4 separate regions of the Homo sapiens genome follow, and regions 2, 3 and 4 are each linked to region 1. The links are contacts of gene promoters, found by promoter capture Hi-C in blood cells and fetal thymus (Javierre and others, 2016). All regions are on one chromosome and are shown on one strand. Each heading gives the region's core, a stretch centred on a gene start or on the middle of the fragment in contact. The rest is flanking DNA. Distances are from core to core; before and after follow the strand shown.

Region 1 (2,988 bases), core at 317-2,816:
TCTGTCACTTTGGGTCAGGTATAAGTGATTCTCCCTGAATATAAGCAAATTTATTCTTTATGTTTAGGCTGGTCAGGATATTTTTATGCAGTCAGAGATAAATGAAAGGCATTGCTACAGCTGAAGGACTTTTCTAGTGGCTTTATTTATGTTGTTTCTGGATAATAAAATAACATAGATGAGCATTTTAGACAGATTTATTAATAGACAGATTTATTAAGAATGTTTAAAATAGCCTTATTATTAAAACCATTAGAGATTTTGGACTAAAAATTGAAAAAAAAATCAATTTTTTTTCTTTTAAATTCTAAATAAAATAATAAAAACAAACCCCCCAGATGTTGAGAAGACATGGATGGGCCTGTTGCACTCTTTACCTATATGCAACCATTTTGTTTCAGACCTAATTCAGTGAACAAAATTTTTTGAGAAGATACATTTAACTACTTTTTCAAGCTTTGTAGTATAAATGCATTTCTTCCAATATAAGATTTTCCTATTATAAGTTGCAAAGAATGGATCCTCTGCAAAACCCACTTGATAAGGGCTCTACTCATTTATTTTTCTTTCCTGCTACCCCAAACTCACTGCATACATCAGGCATAGCTTCCAGGGTGAGCTTTGTTAGTTTTTCTGAGTAGACTTAGCCATTTACTATGCTAGTCACATACTTCACTTGCCTAAGCAATGGATTTTGGTGTTCTATTGAAGAGGGAATATGGTTTGGAAGAGTGTCTCCCCCTCCTCTGAGTTCAATTTACTAGTTGAGATTTGCAAGCCTGAAATGCTTGAAGCAGCTCAGGCACGATAGCAGTGCAAGCTTTAAAATCTAGGTGTAGCTGTTAATCCTTTACAGAGGCACATAAGTCTCCAGGAGTAGCTCGGCTAGCTGTGAGCAAGATGTATGCTTTTCATGTACTGCGTACTCATGGGCTGAGGGATTATTGATTTTCTTTCACAGTTGTAAAAACAGCAATTGGTGATCATCCCACACGTACAGTACACACCAAGTTGCTTTCCTATCTGTGAAGAATCTCCTTGTATTCTTTAATATTTAACATTGAACTTTCCAACTTGCTGTTTTCCATAAGGCTCTTTTCACATAGCAATTACTCAAGACAGAAAATAGCCACTTACTATCTTTTATAAATGAAAGAAGGTTCTAAGAAACTTCTTACATTCAGCCATGATAGTGAAATTTTTCATTGCTGGCTTGCACGCACATATATTGCTTGTTGTGGTGACAGAGCAAACGTTCCTATTTGGATTTCTCATAGTATCAAGTCGTTTCTTTCTAGAGAGTAAAACCAAGCAAACTTTCTGGGACAATCATAAGAAAAAACATGGAAAACACTTACCAGGAAGACGAGAAAAAGCAATCCTATATACACTGCCGCTATAGCTGTAATTCCATTGACAGTGAATTGGAGTAATAGCCCTCCCCCGTCTCCCAAGCTCTGCGTCCAGTCCACACAAAGCCCACGGCAGCTGCAGGCTGAGCTTGTCCTGCTTCAGATCACTCCTACACTGAGGAGTGAGCGAGGGAGAGCATTCCAGTTTACTGCACACAGCCCACCTCCAAGTCTGAAGTTTAAAGCTTCACCTCGCAGTGGCTGAAGAAGGGGGTGATGTCATAGATGGGCAGGACTTAGCCAAGATCTTGTTCAGTGAGGTAACTGGATAATCAGACAGATGAGCTTTGCAAACGCTAGAGGGGGCGAGAGCAGCCAAAATGAAGCATCAGCCTGCCAAAGCTAGGATGCCATTTGGTTTGTAGGCAGCCCTTTGGAATCTCAACATTTTCTAAAGTTTACTACAAGGCAGTGGTAGCATACTTATGTATTTTTTTTAAAAAGCATGTTAGAAAGATATTTTTAAGATCACAATAGAAAAAGACAGGCTTTGTCTTATTTTTAAACCATCTGTATTGAAAAGAAGTTAACCAAAATCAAATTAGTTTTATTATTCACTAGCTAAAATAATGTTATAATTGTGGAAGATGTATGCCAGTAATCCCAACTGTGAATGTTTATTCAACATATGAATAAACAGCAGATTCAAATATATACATCAGGGCTGGGTGTGGTGGCTCACGCCTCTAATTCCGGCACTTTGGGAGGCCGAGGTGGGAGGATCACCTGAGGTCAGGAGTTCGAGACCAGCCTGACCAACATGTAGAAAAAATTAGCTGGGCGCCCGTAATCCCAGCTGTTTGGGAGGCTGAGGCAGGAGAATCACTTGAACCCGGGAGGCAGAGGTTGCAGTGAGCCAAGATTGCACCATTGCACTCCAGCCTGGGCAACAAGAACGAAACTCCATCTCCAATATATGTATATATATACACGTGTCACTGATTCATTTAGTTATGGGAAGGGCAATAGGAATGCCAAAAGATTTTTTTAAATGGTATTAAATGGTCTGTTCTTTTGGAGGCGAAGAAGTTACTGTTCTCTATGTTTTAGAAAATGAAAGTATGTTTTATGTACTTCTGCTACGTGTTTATATTATTTAAAATGGATTATTTATATTTAACGATCCCCCAATAAAATGTTTTTAAAAAATTTAATAGAATATTTTCCTTTCTAAATGTTTTTGCTGATCTGAGCATGGGTTTAGATATAAACATCTTAAGAAAAAAATCTTTCAGGGTGGTTTGCCTGGATTGAAATTATTTTAGTTTAATTTAGGTACATGAATAAACACTGGACAATTGTAAGACGTGGAGATTATAAATTTCTATGCCTAATTAACAGAATTATACTTGTATTTTTAATTATGATTTTTGTAGACTGGTTTCTGCTATTTGGTCAACAATTGCTTTGTGCCCGTAAGTTTTCCATCAAATAAGTGTATTTCACTTGTTCATGTTGGTGGTAAGAACTTAGCTTTTATATTTACCTGGAGGACCGTTGTCTTAAACTAATATCTTTATTTGCTCTATTCTTAGAGGTGCATGACCTTCTCCTTTGTCCTTTCTCAATTTTTCCC
Region 2 (3,389 bases), core at 284-2,783, 2.1 Mb after region 1:
CCAAGAGAGAGAATATAACTTAGTCAAAGTCACACAACTAGTAAGTGATAGGTCCAAGGGCAAAATCCAGGTCACCTCAGTAAACAAGACTTAAATAATGATAAAATACTCAAGATATGTCAAAAGAATAAATTAAGTGAAAACTCAGAATGAGTAGGAACTCAAAAAAGGACAAGGCTTTTGTGTATTTCATTCAAATGAGATAAGCAGTGAAGAGGTGACACAATGCACAGAACAACCGCAGAGAGGAGGAAAGAGCTAGGAAGCTGGCAATGTCTACACATCTTAATCTGGGTGTGGGTTAGATGGGGGTACACAGAAGTAAAAATTCATGAGCTGCATATACCATCTCTTCACACTTTGTGTATGTTAAATCTCAATCAAAAACCAATTCAAATAGTTTTTTTTTAATTCTGTGAACAAATAACTGCATTTAACAAAATGAATCTATTCAGTTAAAATTTCTTTTCAAATGGCATCACCCAGTGTCTCCAAATGCTTGTATGAGTGTACAACTTGGGGGCTGCAAAACATTCCAAGTTATATGAACCATTTGATTCTATGAACCTACAACCATGCAATAAACATGGAGAGATGTGTTTGAAGGGATGATCTTCCACATGCTTTAGGGCTGTGCTTTCCAACTCTTCTGAGGCTCAGGACACTTTCGTCAAAAATAGAGATTTGGGGGTATCACTCCTATTCATTCTCCTTTCACGTGTCTGCGGTAGGCTGAGAAAACTGTCTTTTTAAAAAGATCCCCAGTGATTCTGAGTGGAAACCACTTCTGTATGGAAGTGGTTTCAAGACAGGTTCTCACTCTGTCGCCCTGGCTGGAGTACAGTGAGCAATCACAGCTCGCTGCAGTCTCAACCTTCCAGGCTCAAGCAGTCCTCCTGCCTCAGCCTCCCAAGTAGCTGGGACTACAGGCGTATGCCACCTGTCTGGTTAATTTTTTTTCTGTAGAGACAGGGTCTCTCTATGTTGCCCAGGCTGGTCTCAAACTCCTGGCCTCAAGCAATCCTCCTACCTCAGCCTCCCAAAGTGCTGGGATTAAAGGCGTGAGCTACCACACCTGTCCAAAAGTCAACTTCTGAGGTGGAGAATAACTGCTATATGTGGTTTTGGATGAGAAATAGGACTTAGCAACCTAAAGAAGTGTCACGTCAAATTCTGTTGCTTGACTTCCATCAAATCTGCTGGGAATGCCAGCACACTTTCACTCTAATTACGAGAACAAAAAAGGCTTAAATGTATAATGTACTGGACCTAGAGGAAAATGACCATCTTTTGTGATGTCTGTGTGGCTAAATTCTTTCAGGGAGAATTCAGAGCTATTTGGAACCAACTCCTCTCATCCATTTGACAAAGACAACTTAGGAAGGCTGGTTTTAGCTGGAAAAGTTTCACATCAAAGAGGACAGGTTCAGAGTAAACAAAATTAATAAGGAAAAAATGGATGACATTACTGTAATGCTGACTGTGTGCTAGACACCACTGTCAGCACTTTGCCTGTCCTCGTTTCTCACTTTGTATGATAGGTACGATTACTGTCTGCATCTTACAGTGAGGTTCTGGGGAACAGAAAGTGACCTGTGACCATGGTCAGAAAGATGACAATGCTGGATCCAGAATAACAAAGGTGACATGTAAAGTACGAGATAAGATGTGAGAAGTGTATAGTCATCTTCCTCCTTGGAAATATCAGAATATCCTGGTAATAGACATCCACATGCAACTTAGGCCCTTATTCTTTTGTCAGTAGATGCCCATTTGCTAATTATGCTGATTAGCATAATCTGATCCTTACAGATACAAACTTCTTAATACCACCACTTCTGCTTGGAGCTCTGCTGCCTGGAGTTAAGAGAAACTGCTGTCATCCTTAAATAATGCAAAGGCAAAATCAACCAGGATGCTAAGGAAAAAGTAATCTCTGAAAACTGGCTGTTGTGATACAAACGGAGGGCAAGTCCAACCTGCCGCTCCTAGTAACTGTTGCTAGGTAGGCTGGGATGGAAAACAGCAAGCTAAAGAGGTCAATGAGAAATTGAGCCAAATTCAAAACTACCTATGAAAGACTGAAGAGAACACACCCGCATTTGGAGCTCATTTTAAATCATGTAATCAATCTAAAGGAGAAAAGGAAAATGACTTTAAATACACAGAATTTGTTGTGTGCCATTCTTCAGTTCTAACACCAGAAAACAGAGGGCTCTCCTGTAATGGAATGTTCACACCACAGTACAGATATTCAGCTGCTTTTATGTAATTTTTCACCTCAATACAGGATTCCTGAGTCATAAATATTTTCTCTTAAGAAGTAAAAGAATGCCTCAACTCATGTGCATCTCCTGTTTGCCTTGAATATATATGACACTATAGTAAGTGTCCAAGTTCTATATTTATGGTAGGAAATGTGAATGGTGTCACCCTGATTCACCTGCTCCCCCAACCCCAGCTCACAGAAGCTGTGGTGAATGAGCTTGACCTCACTCCAAAGGGCTCCAGAGGTGGCCCTTGATTCATCTCAATCAATCAGGGTAACCTATCCCTTATCACACTGATTGGTTTAGATAACCTAGACCTAAGCCAGTCAGCATACAGTGTCTCCTTGGCCCCAGAGACTGGTTCAGAAATGCACCATTCAATGGAGAGCTCAAAAAGTTGTTGGGAACTCAGGAATGCACACTCCTTGAATTTGGGTAATGCGTTAGGGAGATATGAATCTGTAATTGCTGCTCTCCCTTTGCATTCTGAGGGTAGACAGCCTGAGGAGTAAGTCAGTACACCAAAAAGTAGAACCAAGGAGAATCCTGGTGAGCCAGAGCCCTGATCAAACCATGCCTAAACTCCATCCCACCATCACTCTTCTGTGAGCTAATAAACCCCTGTACCATATAATCCAGTTTGGAATTGGGTTTTCTGTTATTCAATGTAAATAAACAAACAGAAAATTGTAGCTACCTGATAAAATACGTCTAAGTAACACCAGCTTGTATCTGTATAAAACTACATACCTTAAAAAGTTTCCATATACATAATTTCATTTCTTTTCTGCCCAGCTGAGAAGATAGGTATTACTGGTAACCCAGTTTTACATCAAAAAGGATAGATTCAGAGTAAACAAAATTAATAAGAGAAAATGGAACACATGCTGTAATGCTCACAGTGCTGACCATGTGCTGGACACTGCCCTCAGCCTCTGTGTGTTTCCTTTCTCCCCTTATATAACAGGAACTACTATTGTTGGCATCTTGCAGTGAGGTTCTGAGAAACAGAAAGTGAGTGGTGACCAACGTCAGAAAAATCATAAATTATTGATCCAGAGTAACACACAGGCAAAAGTCACTAGTCTAGGCAAGGAGAAAACCATCTCCTTGCTCCCT
Region 3 (2,922 bases), core at 124-2,623, 2.4 Mb after region 1:
GTAGCTCTCTGAAAGCACAAACATATTCATATATTTTGTGCAGCTTTTCTGTTTTCTCTTATTGAGAGAGTTGGTAAGTCATAAGCCAGTCTATCACCACTGGCAGCTGGAACCATCAGTGTATTATGTGAAACAGATGTGTCTCTACGGGTTAAGAGTTTGATTACTTGCAGCCAAATGAATTCTTAACTGTTAAGCTTGTTACGGCCAGGACTGTGCTATGTGTGGATCTATGCTATGTTGATGTGTGTAACGACTTGGGTGTATGATCTAAAGGAAAGAGACTGAGCAAGCTGCCTTGATCAGAGAAGAGAACTATAACAAGCAGACTCCAGAACAAAGTAAATACTTAGGGTAATCAGAGAAGGATAATTTGGATTTCTTCATTGAGAAACAAAAGGCTAAGAGATCCATAAAGTATACTAACAGGATAAAACGGTTATTAGAGAGAAAGGTTTGGAAACTGCTGAATGGTAATATTTCTAAGTTAACAAATTGCTGAAACTCAAGAGGAAGTCATTTTGTTTTAGCTTTGCCATTAAGCACAAAGCCGAAACTTTTGGCACATGATTTATAACACTCAGAGCTCTGCAGATTTTATTAAAAGTATTAAATAAAGCCTGAAACCTCCCAAGGTGTCCCACAGCCTGCAATATGGAGAGATAAAGGGCTTTTTCCATGGTCAGACATTAGGCATGGGTATAAGTGATTAAAGGAGACACACAGTTAAAATGCTTATGAACGCACACATACACAGGTATTTGGTAGGAATAGCCTGTCTAAATCTCATGCCTTCTGTGACACATTGAATTTTCCAAATATGGCCCTATCAGCATGTTCCATCACCCATGTTCCTTTTCTTGGCACTGGGTGGGCCTGTGACTAGGTGAACAGGATACTGTGTGACTTCTAAGAATAAAAGTCCTCGGAGCCATACAACTTTCAGTAGCCCTCTTGGAACTCTTGACCTTGGATCCTGCCACCCACCACATGGAAAGGCCACTATAGGCTGTTCTGGCCACAGGCCTTATCTGAGGTCCTAGATGACAGCTCACATTGGCCACCCATTATCTATACCATCTGCAGCAGCCATATGAGTGAGACTGCAGAAGATCCCTGCCCCAGTCTTTGAGCATGCCACATGGAGCTGAGATGAGCTGTCCCCATTGACAAAACTGCTTTTTCAGATTCATAGGGAAAATACATGCTTTAAACCACTAAGTTTAGGAGTGGTTTTTCATGCAGCAACAGCTAACTCCTCTTCCCTATATCTGAGTGTAATGCTTATGAGAGTTGCTGAGATATCGCTTAAGACAGAGAAAGAACCTGGAGAGACATAGAGTGTACCAGGAACATTAGCTGATCCAACAAACATTAAAGGCAAAGCTCTGGCTTAATAAAGCCTCTATCTAGATCTGGCATGAGGTCTTTCCTTGTGGAGATGATTGGCAGAAATATAAAGGCAGTTCTGGCCCCAACCTTTAAATGATACTGGTTTTAAGGTCCCTGGGCATGGCTTTTTTGAGAAAAAAATTAAAGATAAAAGTAAAAGGGTATTTGACAGAGACCACCAATTGAATCCCCAAATTTGTTTTCTCCTTCATCCTTTAGTAGTAGTAAGTTCCTGAATTTTAGCAATGCACAGACCACTCAGAATCAAGATTCCTATTTCAGGTGCTTGTGATGCTTCATGCTGCTGCCCTGCAGTCCCTGTAACCTCATGGCAGCCCTGGACGACAAGTTCAGGCATCAGGCACACATGGAGTCTTTCTATTCTTTCTTCTCTGAAGCTGTGGAAGGACAAGTGTGGGCATAACCTGGACCTGTAGGGACAACTGCCCTCGGCCAATGGGGGATGGTAGTGGGTGGATAGAGGCCGCCACCTCCTCTTCCTTAGATGGACTAATTCTGAGCTGTGTTCTACAAGGTTCCCCAAAGGCCTCCTGTGGGATTGAACCCCAGATGCCTAGAGCAGCAAGAAGCTCAATGACACTCCCTCTACTGGCTTTTCTTCTTCCCTTGACTCACTTTTATTACTCAGTCACTTCTATATTTTGGAAGTATCTCCTAAGTAAAGTACTTGTGCCCAAGTCCTTATTTCAGGGTCTGCTTTTGAAGAAACCCCAACTAACACAATTATGTTTCCCAGCTTTTCTTGCAGCCAGATGTCACTATGAAACTCTGATCTGCTTCCCTGTGCTGTTACTCTATAAATTGTGGTGACTCTTTTGTTTCCCTTAGTCAACAGTGCTAGAATATGGCCTGTTGTCTCAACTTTCTTAGTATAGCAGTTAAGATTTTGAACTTTAGAGCCCTAGAGCCAGATTTCTAGGGTTCAAATCCTGGCTCAGCCACTTGTCAGCTGTACGATCTTTGGATGGCAGCTTAATCTTGCTGTGTCTCAGTTTCTTCATTTGTAAAGAAAATATATATAATGATGATAATAGTAATCTTGTTGTGGGTGCTAAGTAAGGAAACATATGTAAAGTAATGAGAAAAATGCCTGATAGATTGTAATAGTCTGTTTTGTGTTACTGTAATAGAATACTTAAGCTTGGGCAATTTATAAAGATAAGAGATTTATTCAGTTTATGATTCTGTAGGCTGGGAAGTTCAAGATTGGGCAGCTGCATCTGCTGAGGGCCTCAGGCTTCCACTCATGGAAGAAAGTGGAAGGGGAGCGGGCATGTGCAAAGAGATCACACAGTGAGAGAGGAAGCAAGAGAGACAAACCAAGGAAGCCAGAACCTTTTTAACAACCTGGTCTTTCAGGAACTAATTCATTCTTATGAGAACCAGAACTCACTTACCCCTGCAGGAGGGCATTACTCTATTCATGAGGGATCCACCTCCTACTAGGTCCCACCTTCCAACACTGCCACATTGGGATCAAATTTCAACATGAGTTTTGTTGGGGACAAG
Region 4 (3,312 bases), core at 403-2,902, 2.2 Mb after region 1:
TCATAATTGATAACTATTAGAGAGTTAATCATTTCAGGTTTAGTGGATAAAATCTTACACATGCAGCCCGTAATGAATGCAAAGGCTGACAAGAGGTTGATGTAAACGAGGGACTGGCTAACTCATTCAAAGCTTTACTTAGCACTTATTTACTCAAATCAATAGCATGAGTGAGAAAATTGTCTCATTAAGATCTAGAAATAGATGCCATTACTCAAAGAAAATTATCCATAAATCTCAGAAAAACCCAACCTGATTCCCTTGAGCAAGCAGCGTTTTCAGTCTGGCTATTTCAGCTCGCAGCTCACGGATAAGTTTGACGTTGGCATCCTCATTAATGGTAGGCTTGTTGATGATGTTTTTGGCTCTATTTGCATAGCGAAGAGTACTTAGGGTTTCTCCATAATTGACATCAGCAGGTGAAATGGCTGTGAAGAATGTATTCAAAAAATAATTTATCCAGCACTCCATGTTCCATTTAACACAAAGTTGGTTTGTAATTTAAAAGTCAGATTAACCCCAGGTCATTGGAGAGACTAAATATTCATTGCCACAGTAATGAATATGAAAAATTATCTAACATTTCTAGGAAAGAGTGTTCACAATACAAAATTAAGTGTCATTTTGCTCTTCTCAAATCTAGAATCAACCACCTAACCAAGTCTAAAATGAGATATGAGACATTCCCCTATAGTTAGGTAGTTTTCCCTGCTGAAAACGTAAGAAGAAGGTTTAAAGACTATTTGTCATCTCAACATTAAGTAGGAATTCAAATACTTTTAAAAGTTCTGGCAAAGTCTACTGTCTGGAAAAAAAAACAGAATATGATAAGTTTTGAAAAGGGTCACAAATCTATCCATTCTCTTCTTAAAGCTTGGTTAATCTTACCCACCTCCACCACTACCACTCAACTTTAAGGATTAGGTGACTATACAAATGCATGTGGGTGTACAAACCAGGGTAAATCCCGTGGCTCCATAGTTAGCACATGGCATGAAGCATGGGAAGGGCATGAAGAGAGGGGAAGGGAAGAGGAAAGAGAGGAAGAGGGAGGGGAAAGTAGAGTCAGAAGGGAAACAAGTCCTGACTTCTCCCAAACAATTATCTCCCCTTTCTACGTTTTTTTCTCTATTCTGCTTCTTTCAATTATTGGCTGAAATACTGACATAAAGTATACTGCTGTTACCATTATTTGTTTTATGCATTGGGTTTTTTTTTCCCCTCCCAATTCTTACTTTTAAATTCCGCATTTACTGCCTTAAATAAAAAAACAAAGTTGGGTTATTTTGACCTTGTGTTCCTATGATTTTTCTCCTATGAGGTAAATTTCTACCTTGCACTTTAAGCAAAGAAAAGCTGAAAAGTCTTCGTGCATGTTATCACAGCTTCCAAAATATGGCAAGGTGGTATAACAGTTAATGATGATACTATAGACTGGATCATAGCAGGATCATAGGAGGTGATTTTCCTCAAGATAGAAAAACCATTACTTTTTTAAGATGTAAAAGGTGCTATTTCCTAATAAGACACTTTAAACTTAAATATTTACAGTTAATTCACAGAAAATATTGTATGCTCAGAAAAGTAACTTAAAACTCTTACTGGCAATCATGATAGTTTTAGAGTTTCCTCCAAGGCTATCTTTTAACAACCAAGTCAACACAGAATCCCTGTAAGGCACGAAAACTTGCTTCTTCTTTGCAAGAGTATTTGCAGCATCCTGAGATAAATCAGCTATGAAAAGGAAGAAACAAAGGGGAGAAAGGACAATTAGTAAAATTTTTTTTCCTCTACTTTTGCTTCATAAAACCTTGAAGAAATTACCTCAGTTTGCAACCCAAATATTACACATGAGGAAAAAGAGGAGGAAACAGAGGAGGCAGGAGCCAGGCGTAAGCATACCTAAGGCAGAAATGACGTTCCCCAGAGTCACGAGGGACTTGTTAATATTTCCCCCTTCCTTTAGCCTAACCCCGGTGGCTCCGGTGGCATCTGCACGCTCACTTCCGGCAAGATCAACCAAGTGGATCTTACTGACGGTTTCACATGGCATTTCAGAATCAAATTTAGCCTGTGGTAAAATAAAAAAGTAAAATTGAAGAGGTGCAAAGGGCCCTGATGTTGTTGATGATATGAATTCTAACTATTTTCTGCTCCTCACTGAGATCTCTCAGGGTAGATATTTTTCAATTTTATTGTTTTACTGGCCTTCCTACTGATTACAGAAACTTCTCAAATTTAATCCAATGCAAAAGAAGTTACTGTATATGATTCTTAAACTTTCTAAAGAAGCATTTCATTCTCAACCAAGCCCTGCTGAATCAGGCTGTGGCAGAACAGAAAACTAGGCACTGAGTGGCACTCAGCAGAGAAATGTAAGTAAGCAAATAATAATTTTTATTCTCATCTAGAATCCCAGCCTTCCAAGAACAAAAGCTTTCCAAAATATGATCAATATAGACAAGTACGGAAAAGAGCATTCAACCATTATCGGATGTTAAAACATCTTGTTGCACAAATTATTTCTTTTAATGTAAAATCTTAAATACTATATTCCTCGCTTCTGAATTCTACCAAAATTTTATATTCACAAATACTTCTGATCTATGTGTTACATTTTGAACCAAAATGCGCCCCCCGCCAGATTACTATATTTTTATAGAAATTTAAACCTCTTAGAAATGAGAGATGGTGGCCAGACCCAGCAGCTTATGCCTGTGATCCCAGCACTTTGGGAGGCCAAGGTGGGAGGATCGCTTGAGCCCAGGAGTTCAAGACCAGCCTGGGCATCATAGTGAGACACCATCTCTAGAAAAAACTTAAAAAAAAAAAAATTAGCTGGGCGTGGTGTTGTGCACTGCAGTCCCAGCTCCCTGGAAGGCTGAGGTGGGAGATCACTTGAGCCCAGAGGTTGAGACTGCAGTGAGCCGTGATCACACCACTGCACTCCAGCCTGGGCAACAGAGTGAAATCATGTCTCAAAAAAAAAAAAAAAATTAGAGATGGTAATATGCTAATCAAGCACTAACCAGAAAGCAGGAGAAAAACCAATCAACTTGAGTAAATCTAAAGGAAAGGTCTAACAGAAGATTAAGATGTGGAGAATTTAATGCAAGTTGTTCTGACTGGCCTTAGAAAACTCATTTTTGTGCTCTTTGATCTCCCTCATTAATAAAATGCTGCCTCTTTGTATCTGATGTGTCCAACTGTTAACCCAGATAAGGACATCCCCAAGCTCCTAGCATATACTTAGACCCTGACAGGACCCTACATTTTTGCATTCATCTATTCTACTGGCCTCAGTGTTCAAAT

What was found. The method cuts DNA at HindIII sites, captures the fragments that hold promoters and counts their contacts. A CHiCAGO score of 5 or more calls a contact.
Region 2: a fragment that was not itself captured here is called in contact with the fragment with the promoter of FLRT3 in region 1 in 1 of 17 cell types (naive B cells); the score reaches 12.2 in naive B cells.
Region 3: a contact is called between a fragment that was not itself captured here and the fragment with the promoter of FLRT3 in region 1, in 2 of 17 cell types (naive B cells and total B cells). The highest score is 9.8, in naive B cells.
Region 4: a fragment that was not itself captured here is called in contact with the fragment with the promoter of FLRT3 in region 1 in 1 of 17 cell types (total B cells); the score reaches 5.3 in total B cells.

Annotation. Positions count from the first base shown.
Region 1 is chr20:14,336,046-14,339,033 of GRCh38, forward strand. It overlaps FLRT3 (fibronectin leucine rich transmembrane protein 3), which reads right to left and starts at 1,567. Exons shown (of 3, transcript NM_198391.3): 1 at 1,359-1,567. The region is part of intron 3 of MACROD2 (mono-ADP ribosylhydrolase 2); the gene reads left to right. The HindIII fragment of the contact is 777 bases long and covers 819-1,595 here.
Region 2 is chr20:16,480,410-16,483,798 of GRCh38, forward strand. All of the region lies in intron 12 of KIF16B (kinesin family member 16B), which reads right to left. Among named protein-coding and RNA genes, the nearest start is that of KIF16B, 91 kb to the right of the region's middle. The HindIII fragment of the contact is 3,982 bases long and covers 1-3,389 here.
Region 3 is chr20:16,766,634-16,769,555 of GRCh38, forward strand. No RefSeq gene overlaps it. Among named protein-coding and RNA genes, the nearest start is that of OTOR, 20 kb to the left of the region's middle. The HindIII fragment of the contact is 2,356 bases long and covers 196-2,551 here.
Region 4 is chr20:16,504,120-16,507,431 of GRCh38, forward strand. KIF16B (kinesin family member 16B) reads right to left here. Exons shown (of 26, transcript NM_024704.5): 8 at 1,903-2,071; 9 at 1,603-1,734; 10 at 253-428. Among named protein-coding and RNA genes, the nearest start is that of KIF16B, 68 kb to the right of the region's middle. The HindIII fragment of the contact is 1,563 bases long and covers 872-2,434 here.